Regions from separate parts of the Homo sapiens genome. Here all the other regions are linked to region 1. The links are contacts of gene promoters, found by promoter capture Hi-C in blood cells and fetal thymus (Javierre and others, 2016). All regions are on one chromosome and are shown on one strand. Each heading gives the region's core, a stretch centred on a gene start or on the middle of the fragment in contact. The rest is flanking DNA. Distances are from core to core; before and after follow the strand shown.

Region 1 (5,046 bases), core at 1,324-3,823:
TTGCTAATTAAAGATGAAACAAGTTGCTAGGGAGGCACCGTGGCTTTGGTCTCTAGCAGCAGAGTTAAGCAAGGGCACATGTATCATGGGTCTGTGGCACTGGTCAGGCGGCTGCCTTTGCAATCTTTGAACTGGAAACAGATATTATTCATGCTGATAGGGAAGAGAGTTGCCTGCTTAGTGGTGACGAAAATTAATAGTCCAAGCATTCTTCCATCCTGCATTTTCCATGCTGGCATTTTGACTTAAAAAAAAATATTGCTGCAGCTGTTTGCATATTCTGGAAGTGTGTGTGCCTGTGTGCGGTTTGGTGTTTACAGATCTGGGGTTGCGGAGAGGAGTCTCCAGAGCAACGGAAGTAGCTGCTTGTCAGTCAGGATTCATTTTGAAAATGAAAGCCTGAAAGCTTGGGGCCCATTCTGGGCCTAGGCCTGGTCTCTGAGAAGTCAGCGAAGGCCAGGAGGTGGCTTTGGCCAGTCAACTCAGTGAATAAACCACTGAATCTCTTTTAAAGAAAAATGAATTGACCAAATCTATGAGTTGCTTTTGATGTCCTGCAGATTGGAGTCTGGAGCAGGGATGTGGGAGCAGGCATTGAGGTGCTGATTGTGGATACATGTCCCCCGCCCCCAACATACACACACACAATCACATTTTCCCAGCCTGCCAAACCAGAACAAGGTAACAAATATTTCTTGGATAACTACTAGGTGCACAAGGATAGTATGACATAGCTGTCCAAGAGTTTATAGTTTAATTGGCATATGAGAGCAAGGGGAGAGAGATGTAACACAAGGCAGTCTTGGGGCCAAAGAAGTAGCAGAAACACAGGGCTGGGGAAAGAGAGGGATCACTTTGGGCTGGGATAATCAGAGGAGGCTTGCTAGAGGTGGAAACTAAGCGCAACCTTGAAAGAAAAGAACTTCACTACATAGAAGCTCTTCCAGGCAGAGGAGTGTAAGTTATAGATACGCTCACGTTACAAGTCTATCCTTTTGGCTGGAATTTGGGGCTTGTATGTGATTTGCAGTTGATAAGCCAGGCTTGAATGCCAGTTCCTGTGTACCAGAACAAAGGCTATGGTGTCGCACAGACCTGCTCTGCCACTTCCTGCTGGGTGACCTTGAGCAAGTAGCCTAACCTCTCTGCAAACTGGGGACAGTAATGATTCCCAGCACTTGAGGTCACTGGGAGGATTAAAAGAGTTAACATATATAACGCAACAAGCACAGTGCCTGGCACATAGTAAATGTTCAAAACCAAATTACAAATGCATAAACTGTTCTGAAGGAAAGCTCTAGATATTTAGGACTTGTTCCAAATACGTGAGGGCCAAGGAAGAAAAGCTTCCGATACCTTCTATCACTGCTGCCACAGGTGGCCCCGAGGGAGTGGGCTGATTTGGCCTGAGCCTCCATCCCCCTTGGCCTAGACTGCTGGAACAGTCTTCCGACTTCCTGCCTCTGCACCTCCCAAATCACCTTTTTAACACAACCTCCATCATGGCTGTGTCTCTCCCCGGCTCAACAATCTTCTATGGCTCCCCGTTGCTCACTGACTGAGCTCCTTAAGATGCTGGGGGTGTGGAGGCAAGAACCACTATTTACTAAGGGAAGGGAAGAGCAAAGAGTACGCTGGTATTAGGAGTGAAAAAGAAAAAATATCCTTTTTTAAAAAGCCCCTAAGCTTTGAATTTGTAGAAAGCGGGGCCCTGGGGAGAGAGCAGGGATGCATCTCTAAAGAGAACAGGGCGCTCCTGCGGCGCCGGCTCAGATTCACCTGTAGCTGCTTCTCCAAGCCAACCTGGGAAAATTGACGGGAGGGAAGAGGGTGGAGAGCAGGACAGAGAGGGCGGTGCAGAAGGGGAATATCCCTCCTGAGTTCCCTGGAAGAGCGTCAGCCTGGACCCTGGTCTTGGGCTTCTCTGCTGGAATCCTGGGCAGCCCCGGGTGCTGCGGCGAGGGTCAAGGCCACACAAAGGGCAAGGCAGGCAGACGAGCCAGTCACATGGGGCAGTCGAGCTGCCTGCGTGAATGCTAGGCGCGGGACAATGGCAACTCCGGGACAAAGTGCAGGGAGACTCCTGAAGAGATAAGAGGGAAGGGCGAAGGAAGGGGGCGGGGAGCCAGAGCCTCGGAGCTCCAGGACCGCGCTTTGGGAGACCGTGGCTGGAAGCCGAGCTCGGCCCGCTGCGGAAGGGGCGCCCTCGCGCCTCTACACTCTAGCCCCGGCTGGGATGCTGAGAACCGCGGCTTCCAGGGCCGCAGGCGAGCTCCCAGCCAGTCCCCGCGCCCGCCCTTCGGTGCTGGAGGCGGGGCTGCCGAGCTCACCTGGCCGTTTGGGGTGGGACCGCCCGCGACCCGGGGGAGCTGCAGAGGCGGCGGTACCCAGGGAAGTGGAGCTGGGCTTGCCCTGGGGACTTGGCTGGAGCTCACACCCCTCCACGCCCCCCAAGGCCTGCGCGGGGGCCCTCCCCTAGCTCCCTCCCTCCTCCTCCTCCTCCTCCTCCTCCTCTCCTTTGCTCCCTCCCTCCGAACCCAATTGCTCAAGCAGCTTCCTTCCCCAACGCCAGCGCCAGTTCCTCTCCCGTTGGGGCCCGGGAAGGGCAGCTAACGCTGGACACTGGGACGGCCGCGGCGGCAGCTTCAAGACCATGGCCCAGCTCGGAGGGGCCGCGAACCGGGCACCCACGGCCTCTCTCGCGCCGACCTCGCAGAGCCTGCGGTGCGCCCCGCAGCCCCGCCCCTCGAGAGCGGACACTGGTAGCCTGGGCAGGTACTGGGGCAAAGCCGCAGCCGCCGCCTCCCGGGAGCACCCCTTCCCAGGCACGCTGATGCACTCTGCAGCGGGCTCAGGGCGCCGGCGGGGAGCGCTGCGGGAACTGCTGGGGCTGCAGCGGGCGGCTCCTGCGGGGTGGCTGTCGGAGGAGCGCGCCGAGGAGCTGGGCGGGCCGAGTGGGCCGGGCAGCAGCAGGCTGTGCCTGGAACCGCGGGAGCACGCGTGGATTCTGGCAGCCGCCGAGGGCCGCTATGAGGTGCTGCGGGAGCTGCTGGAGGCTGAGCCGGAGCTGCTGCTGCGGGGCGACCCGATCACCGGCTACTCGGTTCTGCACTGGCTGGCCAAGCACGGGCGCCACGAGGAGCTCATTCTGGTACACGATTTCGCCCTACGCCGGGGGCTGAGGCTCGACGTGAGCGCCCCAGGCAGCGGCGGCCTCACGCCCCTCCACCTGGCGGCCCTTCAGGGCCACGACATGGTCATCAAGGTGCTGGTGGGCGCCCTGGGTGCTGACGCTACGCGCCGCGACCACAGCGGCCACCGGGCCTGCCACTACCTGCGGCCCGACGCGCCTTGGAGGTTGCGGGAGCTGTCGGGAGCCGAGGAATGGGAGATGGAGAGCGGCAGCGGGTGCACCAACCTGAACAACAACAGCAGTGGCACCACTGCGTGGAGGGCCGCGAGCGCAGTGGGCGCGACGGCTGTGGAGACAAGCAGGAGAGTGGCAGCGTCGCGGACCAAGGCGAAGGACACCGCGGGCAGCCGGGTGGCGCAAATGCATAGCCTTTTCCGCCATCTGTTCCCCTCATTCCAGGACCGTTGACAGGGACAGAGACTGGAGAGCTAGGAGGGGCTGTGACACTGTGGCGATGGCTAGGTCCTGGGTTGTCCCGGGTTCCACCGAAGGAGAGGCGCCTTGGACGCTGCTTGGGCCTGCAAGGAACAGAACACGTCGGGGTCCGACTCAGGTACTTGTCTCAGGTCTCCTGTAACCACCGGCCTGGAGGACCCGGGGACTCGGGCACCACCTCACCAAGAGAGAGTGAAGGACCAAGCTGGCCTGGCTCCGAGTTCCAAAGCTACAGGACTAAGGAGTTGGGAGCAGGGAGCGTGGTCCTGCTTGGGAGAGGGCAAGTTAAGCTTCCAGGGGCCATTTCTGGGCAGGCCGACGCGCTGGGTTTATTAGGAAACATTCGCTAGAAGAATGAGTTAAGATTGTAAACCACCAATGCAGAGAAAACGCCTAACTCTGCCGGCCTCGCTCGGCCATTAATGGGTCTTGGGGTGCGGGTAGAGTCAGCCTCTGACAACCTCCTCCTGAGACGACCCAGCCTTACTGGTACTTTTTCTCATGTATCACAGGTTACTTCTTATGTATATTAAAGTGGAATATGTGTTCTTTTCACATGACAAGGCTGTCCTTTCAGTGTTTTCCCCCACCTCCCTTACTAACCACAAAGGAAGAAACTGCATATGTTTGCAGGGTAGAGGTCACCCAACCATGGCCGTGATGTTGTGCCCCCCGGGGCAGGCTCTGGGCCTCCTTCTCAGAACAAATGGCCAGAGCTGTGCACAGAAGAAGCTACTTCCACTTGGATCTGAGGAGAAACATACAGTTCACCTCTGTCCTGAGCTCTTTGATGGTCTGGCCTCAGGCACCAGCCTCATCCTAGAAGAGTTGTCATATAGGGGCCTTGGGTTGGGGGTAAAAGGCAAAAGTTTCCAAATTTACATTTCTGATATTTCCACGGTCAGTCATGTAATTTACCTTGATTTGTGGCCTCTAATGAGACACACCCACGGGCACTTTTTTTTTTCCAAGATGGGGCTTTCCTCAGTAGCATTTATTTATTTATTTTTGAAATGGAGTCTCACTCTGTCACCCAGACTGGAGTGCAGTGGCGCAATCTTGACTCATCGCAACCTCTGCCTCCCGGGTTCAAGCAATTCTCCTGCCTCAGCCTCCCAAATAGCTACAGGCACCCGCCACCACGCCCGGCTGATTTTTTTTTTTTTTTTTTTTTTTTGGTATTTTTAGTAGAGACGGGGTTTCACTATGTTGGCTGGGCTGGTCTCGAACTCCTGACCTAGTGATCCGCCTGCCTCAGCCTCCCAAAGTGCTGGGATTACAGGCATGAGCCACCACGCCCAGCCAGCAGCATTTATTTATTATTACTGTTTTTTGAGACAGAGTCTCACTCTGTCGCCCAGGCTGGAGTGCAATGGCGTGATCTAGGCTCACTGCAACCTCTGCCTCCTGGGTTCAAG
Region 2 (5,046 bases), core at 1,128-3,627, 360 kb before region 1:
CTGAGTAAAATATGAACACCTGGTTAGCACATGATCATGAAAAGACAGAAGGCATCCAATATATAGTTTGGTGTTATTCATTTTATGCTTCAGTGTACCTGCAGTGAAAAATATACATTTTACTTTCTTTTTTTTTGAGACGGAGTCTCGCTGTCACCCAGGCTGGAGTGCAGTGGCGTGATCTCGGCTCACTGCAGGCTCCGCCCTCCAGGGTTCACGCCATTCTCCTGCCTCAGCCTCCCAAGTAGGTGGGACTACAGGCGCCCGCCACCTCGCCCGGCTAATTTTTTGTATTTTCAGTAGAGACGGGGTTTCACCGTGTTAGCCAGGATGGTCTCGATCTCCTGACCTCGTGATCCGCCCGCCTCAGCCTCCCAAAGTGCTGGGATTATAGGCGTGAGCCACCGCGCCCGGCCATACATTTTACTTTCAAGGTTAAAATAGGCCAGGCGCGGTGGCTCATGCCTGTAATTTCGGCACTTTGGGAGGCCGAGGCAGGTGGATCATCTGAGGTCAGGAATTCGAGACCAGCCTGGCCAACATGGCGAACCCCATCTCTACTGAAAATACAAAAAAATTAGTTGGGTATGGTGGCACATGCCTGTAGTCCCAGCTACTTAGGAGGCTGAGGCAGGAGAATCGCTTGAACCTAGGAGGCAGAGGTTACAGTGAGCCAAGACCATGCCACTGCACTTCACCCTGGGCGACAGAGCGAGACTCTGTCTCAAAAAAAAAAAAAACATAACTTGGCTGACCCAATCTCCATACAATGGGGTTATCACATGAAATGTTCCAGACCCACGAACTTCCTGAAAGAGCTTTAGAATCTTGTCCCGTTATCCAACAAAGGGCTTTAGGAAGTACCAGTACCCGAAGGTTTCCTTATTGTAATCCCCAAATTCCAATTCAAGCCCTTTTAAAGTCGGGGTCCTCCGGTCTTCAGAGTCATACATCTTTCTCAAGCTTCCCCCAGCCATCAAATTAGCTTACAACAAGACAGAAGAATTCACAAAACATGAAAATAAGCATTCCCCAATTGTTGAGAGCAGAGTATGGCTTCTGCAACTAGAACAAGTTCTCACAGTCAAAACCTTGTAATGTCATACTCAAGTGAGATTGACAGTGAAAAATAAAAAAGGAGAAACCCTGCAATGCCTTTTAGAAAACGTTCCTATAGCATTGTGTGTTAGTAAATGTAAATAACTATACAAGCCTAAAAACAACTATGTACCCGGAACATCTTGCTCACACCAACAGACTGCTGACAGTTCCTTTCCTTGTAATTATTAGTGACATGGCTTTTTTAGAAAAAAAAGAGACAGAAAGAAATTCTGAAATTCTGAAATTTTTGAACTGATTAAAGAATCCTCGGATTCTGGCCAAGCCTCTCTTAGCCATTCTTTGCCTCTATTGTTCTCTTAGCTTACAGAACCACTGAAAATGTCCCTACTGGAGTTAACTCTGCAGTCCTAGTAGACATATAGTGTAGCCGTTAGTGGAAACTGACATAAACCGCCCTAGATTTCAAACCGGTCTCTGCTTTGTAGGTAGCTGTGTGAGCCTGAGCAAGTCCTCTCTGTGTCTTGGTTTCCTCTCCTGTAAATGAATACCTAATCAGAACTAACACATATAAACTGCTTACCCATACCAGTCATTGTTCATTAATCCTTACAACAACCCCTAGGAGGAAAAAATTATAATCTCTGTTTTATAAAGCAACTGACACACAGAGAGGTTGAGTGACTTCCCCAAGGTCCCACAGCTGGTAAGCTGCAGAGCCAAGAATCTTACACAGGTTCAAGAGTCCAGATTCAAGTCCCCACACCCACACAGCCTCTGTCAATGAGGACATACGTACTTAGGGCCGTTTTGAGGATTACATGAGAACGTCTGTAAAGCCCAGTACTTGACAAGTGCCTGAGAGATAGCAACTGTGGTTGTTAGAATTTTTTACCTTCTGCACTGGGAAACCATCAAGGCTTTTTGGTTAGGCAGGAAAAAAAAATGGGTTGGAGGCAAGAGGAGGAGGAGGGAAGCGCCAGGGGAGGAAGACAGAGAAGTGGCACGTGAAAGGGAGAAAAGGGGCAAACCAGAGGAGAGGCAGGGAGGGGCGGCGGGGGCGCACTGAACATTTAGGAAGCAAGATGTCTAGCAGGCTGGGCCTTGAGAGAACAGTAACTGTTTCGCAACTGAAAGTCGCTACTCGAGCCTTGCCAACTGGGGAGACTATGCCCATGATATCCGCGGCCTCGGACCCCGGACCCTCCAGGCCCTCGCGCCCCACCCCCGACCAGCCTCGGGCCAGGCTAGGGCGTAGACGGGGCTTCCCGTCCCTCACGCGGGCCCGCCCCATGCCGGGCGGGGCCTGGGGCCCGCCACCTCCGCCCGTGGCCGGAGAGCCCCAGGCCCGAGCCACGCGGTCTTCCGGGCCCGGGTCGGGGCTCGATGGCTACGTGGAGGCGGGACGGCCGACTGACAGGCGGCCAAAGGCTGCTGTGCGCTGGGCTGGCGGGGACGCTCAGCCTCAGCCTCACCGCGCCCCTGGAGCTCGCCACCGTGCTGGCCCAGGTTGGCGTCGTGCGAGGCCACGCCCGGGGACCGTGGGCCACAGGGCACCGGGTGTGGCGGGCAGAGGGGCTCCGGGCCCTGTGGAAGGGGAACGCGGTGGCGTGCCTGCGCCTCTTCCCCTGCAGCGCCGTGCAGCTCGCCGCCTACCGCAAGTAAGAGCCGGGCGGGGCCGGGGAACCGGGAGACCGGACGGGGGTGGGGTGGGGGAGCCGCGGCCCGACGCCGCCCTGCTGCCTGGACTCGGGGCCCTGGAGTAGGGACGGCCCCCTTGTCGATCACCTGGGGACCCCTCGGGGCGGTGGGCCACCTCTATGGCCCCCAGAGTGCAGCCCCAATGCTTTTCACGTTCTCTTGGGGTTACCGCCCTGCAAGATGCAGTTTTGTGGTCCGCAGCCCTGGTCCGAGAGGCTTTCCGGATTGGACCGGGCGAGGAGGTGGAATGCAGCAAAGGATTTGGAGGAAAGGAATGAAAAGCTCTCCAGAGAGATGAGTCCTAACCATTTCCACCGTCCTCCAATTTGGAAACTTTTGCTTAGGCTGGCTTAGGAAGAGAGAGACCCTTTTAAAGGTGTTTTTGTCTGTGTGACCCAAGCCCCGAGAAGAAAGTGCTTGGTGTGGGGAAAGGACCCGATCCATCGATACGAAAAGGCCGCAGATTTTTGCCCACACATCTCCCCAACTTAAATGAAGCTTGACTTCAGGCTCCGACAGAGGCTGCAGCTTCCCCTCCCCAAGCTGAGAACGGCCCCCTCAGCCTACCGCTTCACCCCACTGGCCTCATTTATTTGGGCCTTTTCCACCTTCTCCCACATCAACAGCTGCTCCTTAGGAAAAGATCTAAAGGTGTAAATGCAGCCTTAAAGCTTCCACCGAGCTCAGAGGTACCTGCATTTGAACTGGAAACCAAGCCTGAAAGAATGAATTGGTAGTGATGGCATTTCAGGAAGCAGAGATGTTTCTGTATTGGGGGGACGGTCCCTGTGTTCCTCATTCAGTGGGCACAGTGGCATCTTTGATATCGCCTTGGCTCTGAATTAGACAAACAGCCCACATTTGGGAGAGTCGGTCTTGACCGCATAGTTTAGTCTTGGCGGCTAATAGTCAAAGGATTTTGCCTTGACACTGTCACTCACCTGGGAGGCCAGAGGTGGAAGGCTCACCTGGCAGCCGACAAGCCGAACGGAATCATCCTTATTACCTAGGCCTCTAGGCCAGTACTCATTTTGCCTCTGCCTGGAAATAGAGTTCCCTTCTCTTCCTCTGCAGAGGGACTCATGGGTGGGACCATGACATTTAGTTAAGGCCCTTTTTCCTCCCCACCTCTGCTTGCCCTCATCAACATCTGGCCTGCAGTCTGTAAACAGTTCTCCTCTGAGTCTTAATGACTCAGTTTCTCCCCCACTTCACCCTCTTCTCTACAAAGTAGTGTGGAAATCTTCCTTTGGATGGGATAAAATATGTCCAGAGGGGTGGGGGGCAGAACTTCAAAGGCTGGTTTAAGTATTGTGGCTCTTCTGCTAAGCACCTAGTATATGCACATTAGATTTTTTAAGCTCCTGCCTCCTGCCCTGTAAGGTCCATAGGACAGGAAGCATTGTGCCTGTTTTACAGATGCAGAATTGGGCTCAGAGTGATGACACCTCTTGTCAGTGACCGAGCTGAGCTCCACTACCTGGCCTTCTGACTCCAAATCTCATAGTCTTTCTGTTACATCATGCTGCCTCCCTGCATCCATTTGACACTAATTTAGTCAGGCTACATTAAGTCCCCACTGTGTGCACGATGCTGAGGACAATGCCAGGATGGAAGGGGCATGGTCCCTGTGCCCCAGGAGCTTACAGAGTAATAGAAGAGTAAGACTAATATGTCCATGACCATAACACACAAGGTAGCATGTGATTGTCATGGATAATGTGCTCTAGAAATGTACCCTTCTGATGAGCGATGAGGAGGAGAAAATGTGAAGACTTCATAGAGGAGAAAAAAATTTGAGTTTGGCATTGGGAGAATGAGGAGTCTGCTGGGCAGAGATGGAGAGAAAGATACTGCAGTTGATGTCAGCAAATGCACAGAGGTGGGAAGGCAAGCAGCACAACAGGAAGTCCAACCAGAAAAGCAGGTTGGAATGAGATATTAGAGGGTTGGATTAAGGGATTTGGACTTGACTTGGTATCCAAGGGTAGCTGTGGGAGGTTTTTGTGGGGGGTGGGGGGAGGTGTGTTGTGATTAAAGCAATTCAATGGAAATGATCGTCACATCGTGGCAGAGTAAGATGACTAGAGAGGAGGAAGAGTGGAGACAGCAGGGCCAGTTAGGAACCTGTTGCACTAGTCCACATAGCAGCTGAGGGCACCGGCAATAGGTGACCATGGGAGCAGAGAGGAGGAGATGTCTGGGAGAACGAGAACAGAGACTTACCTGGGCTAGGTTTGCTAGGAATTTTTTTTCCCCTACAGGATTATTTTCTTTCTGAAAACT
Region 3 (5,046 bases), core at 1,316-3,815, 260 kb before region 1:
TTGCCCAGATGCTAAGCTTCCATATAACCCTTGGTTACACAGGCCCTTGGAAGGAAGCCTTGGCCTAAATAGCCCCAAACAAGTGATAATAGAAAAGCCTTTTATATTTAGCTTTTGGATATTGTAAGTGATTTTTGGCAGCATATTTCTCTTCCTAAATAGAGCTGGATTGGGCTAATTAAAATTAACTTTATGGGATGCAGAATAGGAGAGTGGTTAAGAGCCTTTATAGACCAGTGGTATGGGCGCTCAGCCACACAGTCTGGTTTTCAGTCCAATCACCACCATTTGCTAGCTGTTTATCTCCCTGAGTTTCTTCATCTGCAAAACACAGATATAGCCAGAATACCTTTCTCATTGGGTATCTGTGAGGATTGCATGAAGACTAATACATATAACACAGCCTGATGTCTGGCCCCTGGAAGCATTCAATAAAGGGTGGCAGTCATAGTTATCATGACATTATTTCCCTAGTAGACCCACTGGGCTTTGGATAAAGGAAGTCTAAAGGTAGCCTGGGGGAGGGGTATATGAGGGAAAATCAGGCCAGGATTAAAAACTGTCAGCATAGGCCCGGCACGGTAGCTCTCATCTGTAATCGTACCACTTTGGGAGGCAGAGGCAGGTGGATCAGTTGAGGTCAGCAGTTTGAGACTAGCCTGGCCAACATGGCAAAACCCTGTCTCTACTAAAAAATACACAAATTAGCCAAATGTTGTGGCAGGTGCCTGTAGTCCCAGCTACTTGGGAGGCTGAGGCAGAAGAATTGTTTGAACCCGGGAGGCAAAGGTTGCCGTGAGCCAAGATCGTGCCTGGGTGACAGAGTGAGACTCTGTCTCGCAATAAATAAATAAATACATACATAATAATAATAAATTGTCAGCCTATAATCCAGAAAAAAACAATCCACCTGTGGATAATCGAGTTATCCACTTCTTATTCTTTTTTTTTTTTTTTTTGAAACAGGGTCTCACTGTTGCCCAGGCTAGAGTGCAGTGGTGTGATCAGAGCTCACTGCGGTGTTGAACTCCTGGCCTCAAGTGATCCTCCTGCCTCAGTTTCCCAAAGTGTTGGGATTACAGGAGTGAGCCACCACTCAACGGCCAGAACGTGATTTCTTGACCCTTTTTCTCAGGATTGTGCTAGCTCCTCAGCAGGTTTAGGCTAGAGTGAGCAGGTGGCATTGCCCCAAGACCAGTTGGATGCAGAGTCTGTCAGGAATCACTTCTCTATGCAAGGGAGTAGGTCTGGCTAGGCACAGGTATGTGCTTGCAAGGTAAATAGTTGTTACTGACACAGTCACCTTTGTCTGTGAGGGGAGGAGGAGGCCAATGCCTATGGAAGGACAAAACTCCTTCAGCCTTAGGCAGGTCTTACCTGCCCCTGCATTCTTGTCAGGTTATATATTGCTCTTGTGATGTGTTTGGAAAAAGACAAGAAAACATACTTTTTTTTTTTTCTTCTAGCCAGGACCTCTGGCTAGAGGTAGAGGGACTTCTTAGACGTCACTATCATGGCTGAAGCCTCAATTCTGTCCTAAGCCAGGAAACCAAATTGGTAAATTTGGTCTTTTTTTTTTTTTGACAGGGTCTCACTCCTGTCTCCCAGGCTGGAGTGCAGTGGCACAATCTCAACTCACTGCAGCCTCGATAGCCCAGGCTCAAGTGATCCTCCCACCTCAGCCCCTCAAGTAGCTGGAATTACAGGCATGAGCTACCACGGCCGGCTAATTTTTGTATTTTTAGTAGAGACAGGGTTTCTCCATGTTGGCCAGGCTGGTCTCGAACTCCTGACCTCAGGCGATCTGCCGGCCTGGGCCTCCAAAGTGCTGGGATTACAGGCGTGAGCCATCATGCCTGGGCTAGTAAATTCAGTCTTTATATCATGGTTCCTCCATTGTTGTCAATAACTCTAGCACTGTGAACATGCTTTTGTGAGCTGATGCTGCTATTTACTTCTCTATTTACACATTTACGTATTTGTGTCTCCCTGATACCACATTTATCTTTTGAATGGGTAATATATTGGTAATATATCCTCGGATACCAAATTGACAAGGTATAAAGGGTTTACAGTAACAAGTTAGTTTCCCTCCCACCCCTGTTCCCTCGCCACCCACAGGTAATCTCCATGACCACATTCTGGTGTTACCTTCCAGAGATAAGCTATGCCTATCCAGGCATCTATTATTTTAGGTGGTAGCATTCTTACTCATATTTGTATCCCAGTGCGTAGAGGAGTGCCAAACAAAAGTATGCTGTCAAAAAAAGCTTGTTGGTTGCATGTTTGTTGCTCCAGATTTGTTGCCCTCATCCCAGCCATGGGTGCCTGAACTCTCTAGTTGAAATTTTCATGAGCTTATCAAAATTTTACCTGGGGCCAAGCGCGGTGGCTCATGCCTCTAATCCCAGCACTTTGGGAGGCCGAGGCAGGCGGATCACGAGGTCAGGAGTTCGAGACTAGCCTGGCCAACATGGTGAAACCTCGTCTCTACTAAAATTACAAAAAAAATTAGCTGGGCGTTGTGGCGGGTGCCTGTAATCCCAGCTACTTGAGAGGCTGAGGCAAGGAGAATCGCTTGAAGCTGGGAGGCAGAGGTTACAGTGAGCTGAGATTGCGCCATTGCACTCCAGCCCAGGCAAGAGTGTGAGACTCCGTCTCAAAAAAAAAAAAAAAATTTTTTTTTTTTTTTTTTTACCTGTTTGGACTTGCAGCTCTGGCTTTATTTTCTCCAGACTGAAATTTACAAAGAAGCTACTGGGGCCTTGCCTAATATAAACAAGTTATTCTCCTTCACAATAGAACTCTAAAGAGCACCCTGATGCATGAATTTTCTTCCCTGCTCTGTTCAGTGTAAAACAGAAGCTTAGCCCCAGCTCCTCTTTGTTAGGTGACTGTTCCCTGAGGCAAGGGTTAAAGAGACTTTGATGCTGCTCATCTTAGGGGAGTCTCTAAGCATACTCATCTCAGAATTCTGGCTCAGGAAATAAAATGCAGGAGTTTCCACTGCAGTATTCCTCAGTCCTTGACAGAGCTGGGTTTTCCAGAAGCATCCAGACAGCAGTGCCACCTTCATATTCTCTCATATTCTCTCTCTCTCTCTCTCTCTCACACACACACACACACACACATTTTTTTTCTCCCTGATGTGGCTAGGGGACAGGCTGGACTCCTGCACTTGATCCATATAAAAGAACCTAAGGAAGAAAGAAAAAGGGAGGAGTAAGAGGGCCACTCCCTGTCCTGTTCTATGATCACGAGGCTTGTAAACTCAAGGAGGCAGCAGGGCAGAGTGCCGAAGCAAACAGAGGCTGCCTGGGCTGGAATCCTGACTCTGCCATTTATCGCCTGTGTGACTTTGAAACCACCTTTGCAAAATTATAACTGAGGAAGTTATGATAGTGAAAGAAAACAGACCTAACCGATTCCATCTTGCTTCTAACCTTTAAGCTGTCCTTGTTCATTCCTGGGCATAGGCCGAACTCTCCATTGCAATTCCCCTGTCTTGATAAATCGTCTCTATCTAGGCAGTGAGCAAGGTGAACCCACTGGGTGGTTACAACTTTGGACAAGTTATTTAACCTCTGTCTGCTTCCATTTCTTCCACCGTAAAATGGGGATAACTGTACCTACTTTAAAAGACTTGTTATGAGGATTCAGTGAGTTAACAGATTGCAATGCATTTAGAACGGTGCCTGGGCATGTGGTAAGTGCAATATACATGCTATTTATTTATTTATTGTTTTTATTTTATTTTATTTTTGAGACGGAGTCTCACTCTGTGGCCCAGGGTGGAGTGCAATGGCGCGATCTCGGCTCACTGCAACCTCTACCTCCTGGGTTCAAGCAATTCTCCTGCCTCACCCCCCAAGTAGCTGGGACTACAGGTGCCCACCACCATGCCCAGCTAATTTTTGCATTTTTAGTAGGCACAGGGTTTCACCATGTTGGCCAAGCTGACCTCAAACTCCTGACCTCAGGTGATCTACCTGTCTTGGCCCCCTAAATTGCTGGGATTACAGGCGTGAGCCACTGCACCCCGCCTATACATGCTTTTTAAACAAAAAGAAAAACGTCCATGTCAGTGGTTCCCGTGTTCGATGCATGTCCCTCTATTCCCTGGCTGTAAGTTTCAAGGTTTTCACTTACCGATCTTGGGCCCTTTGGTGCATTTTTTTTCCTATTGGGAAAAAGCTAAATGTTGTGTTGTATGGTGCATTTCTTACACAGAAAGGAAAAACTAAAAAATAGCCTGTATCTAGGCTAAAATTCCTGTATAGAGGCAAGATTGTGTCATCTAAAGTTCTTACTACATTGACTTTTTCCTGATGCTGTTCTTGGGGCCCCCACTCTGCCTCTAGAGGGCTGGTAAGAGTCCACAGGAGAGCTTCCCAAGCCAGTGCCTTTTAGGAAGAGTTGCTGTGGCTACTGAGCTGATCAAAGGTCTCAGCCTCCACAAAGAAGCATGTGCTGCTGTGGCAATGGGCCTGAGGGTACGGGGGCCCCAGGGTTGCAGGGCAAGACAACAATCCGGAATCCAGCTGTTGTCTCGGCCATCATCTGAGGTCATCCTGCCAGATTGGCAGGCTGTGCCCTAGACCACAGAGGTAGCCCCTGCTCTTCAAAGGGCTGGATTGTCAGCCCAGCCCCTCCTAGGCCTTCTCTTCAGGCTTCTTCTTTCTACATTATCCCAACACAAACAGCTTGACTTCCAAGTGACATTGCACCAGAAAGACTTCCAAAGTCAGCTCACCTATCCTAGGGATCTAGCCCGGCCAGGGGCTCCTATGAGGGATTCCATAGGAGGAGTCAGAGACTGTCATCTAGGAAGGCTTCAGAGCTTCAGGATAGGTCCTGGGCAACCCTTGATCGCCCTCAGAGACTCACTCAGGTTTTGGCGTCCCTCGGTTACAGAAACCCTCATGACCCTAATCACATTGCAACTGCATTTCCTTCCTGTGCCTCGGGCTCAGTCAGGGTTGGGCCCAGGTGTGCCAGAACAGCAGGCGTTCAAAAAGCACATCGCTTGCTTCTCAGATCTTGCTC

Evidence for each region. The method cuts DNA at HindIII sites, captures the fragments that hold promoters and counts their contacts. A CHiCAGO score of 5 or more calls a contact.
Region 2: a contact is called between the fragment with the promoter of SLC25A43 here and the fragment with the promoter of SOWAHD in region 1, in 3 of 17 cell types (fetal thymus, naive CD8 T cells and endothelial precursors). The highest score is 5.8, in fetal thymus.
Region 3: a contact is called between a fragment that was not itself captured here and the fragment with the promoter of SOWAHD in region 1, in 4 of 17 cell types (fetal thymus, total B cells, naive B cells and 1 more). The highest score is 9.9, in fetal thymus.

What each region holds. Positions count from the first base shown.
Region 1 is chrX:119,756,015-119,761,060 of GRCh38, forward strand. It overlaps SOWAHD (sosondowah ankyrin repeat domain family member D), which reads left to right and starts at 2,574. Exons shown (of 1, transcript NM_001105576.3): 1 at 2,574-4,188. The coding sequence starts at 2,654. The coding sequence ends at 3,601. RefSeq lists enhancers at 98-157, 168-367, 4,435-4,504, 4,515-4,584 and silencers at 2,324-2,473, 2,584-2,883. The HindIII fragment of the contact is 2,232 bases long and covers 1,685-3,916 here.
Region 2 is chrX:119,396,959-119,402,004 of GRCh38, forward strand. It overlaps SLC25A43 (solute carrier family 25 member 43), which reads left to right and starts at 2,378. Exons shown (of 5, transcript NM_145305.3): 1 at 2,378-2,720. The coding sequence starts at 2,446. RefSeq lists a silencer at 2,242-2,901. The HindIII fragment of the contact is 2,295 bases long and covers 962-3,256 here.
Region 3 is chrX:119,491,444-119,496,489 of GRCh38, forward strand. No RefSeq gene overlaps it. Among named protein-coding and RNA genes, the nearest start is that of SLC25A5-AS1, 25 kb to the left of the region's middle. The HindIII fragment of the contact is 595 bases long and covers 2,269-2,863 here.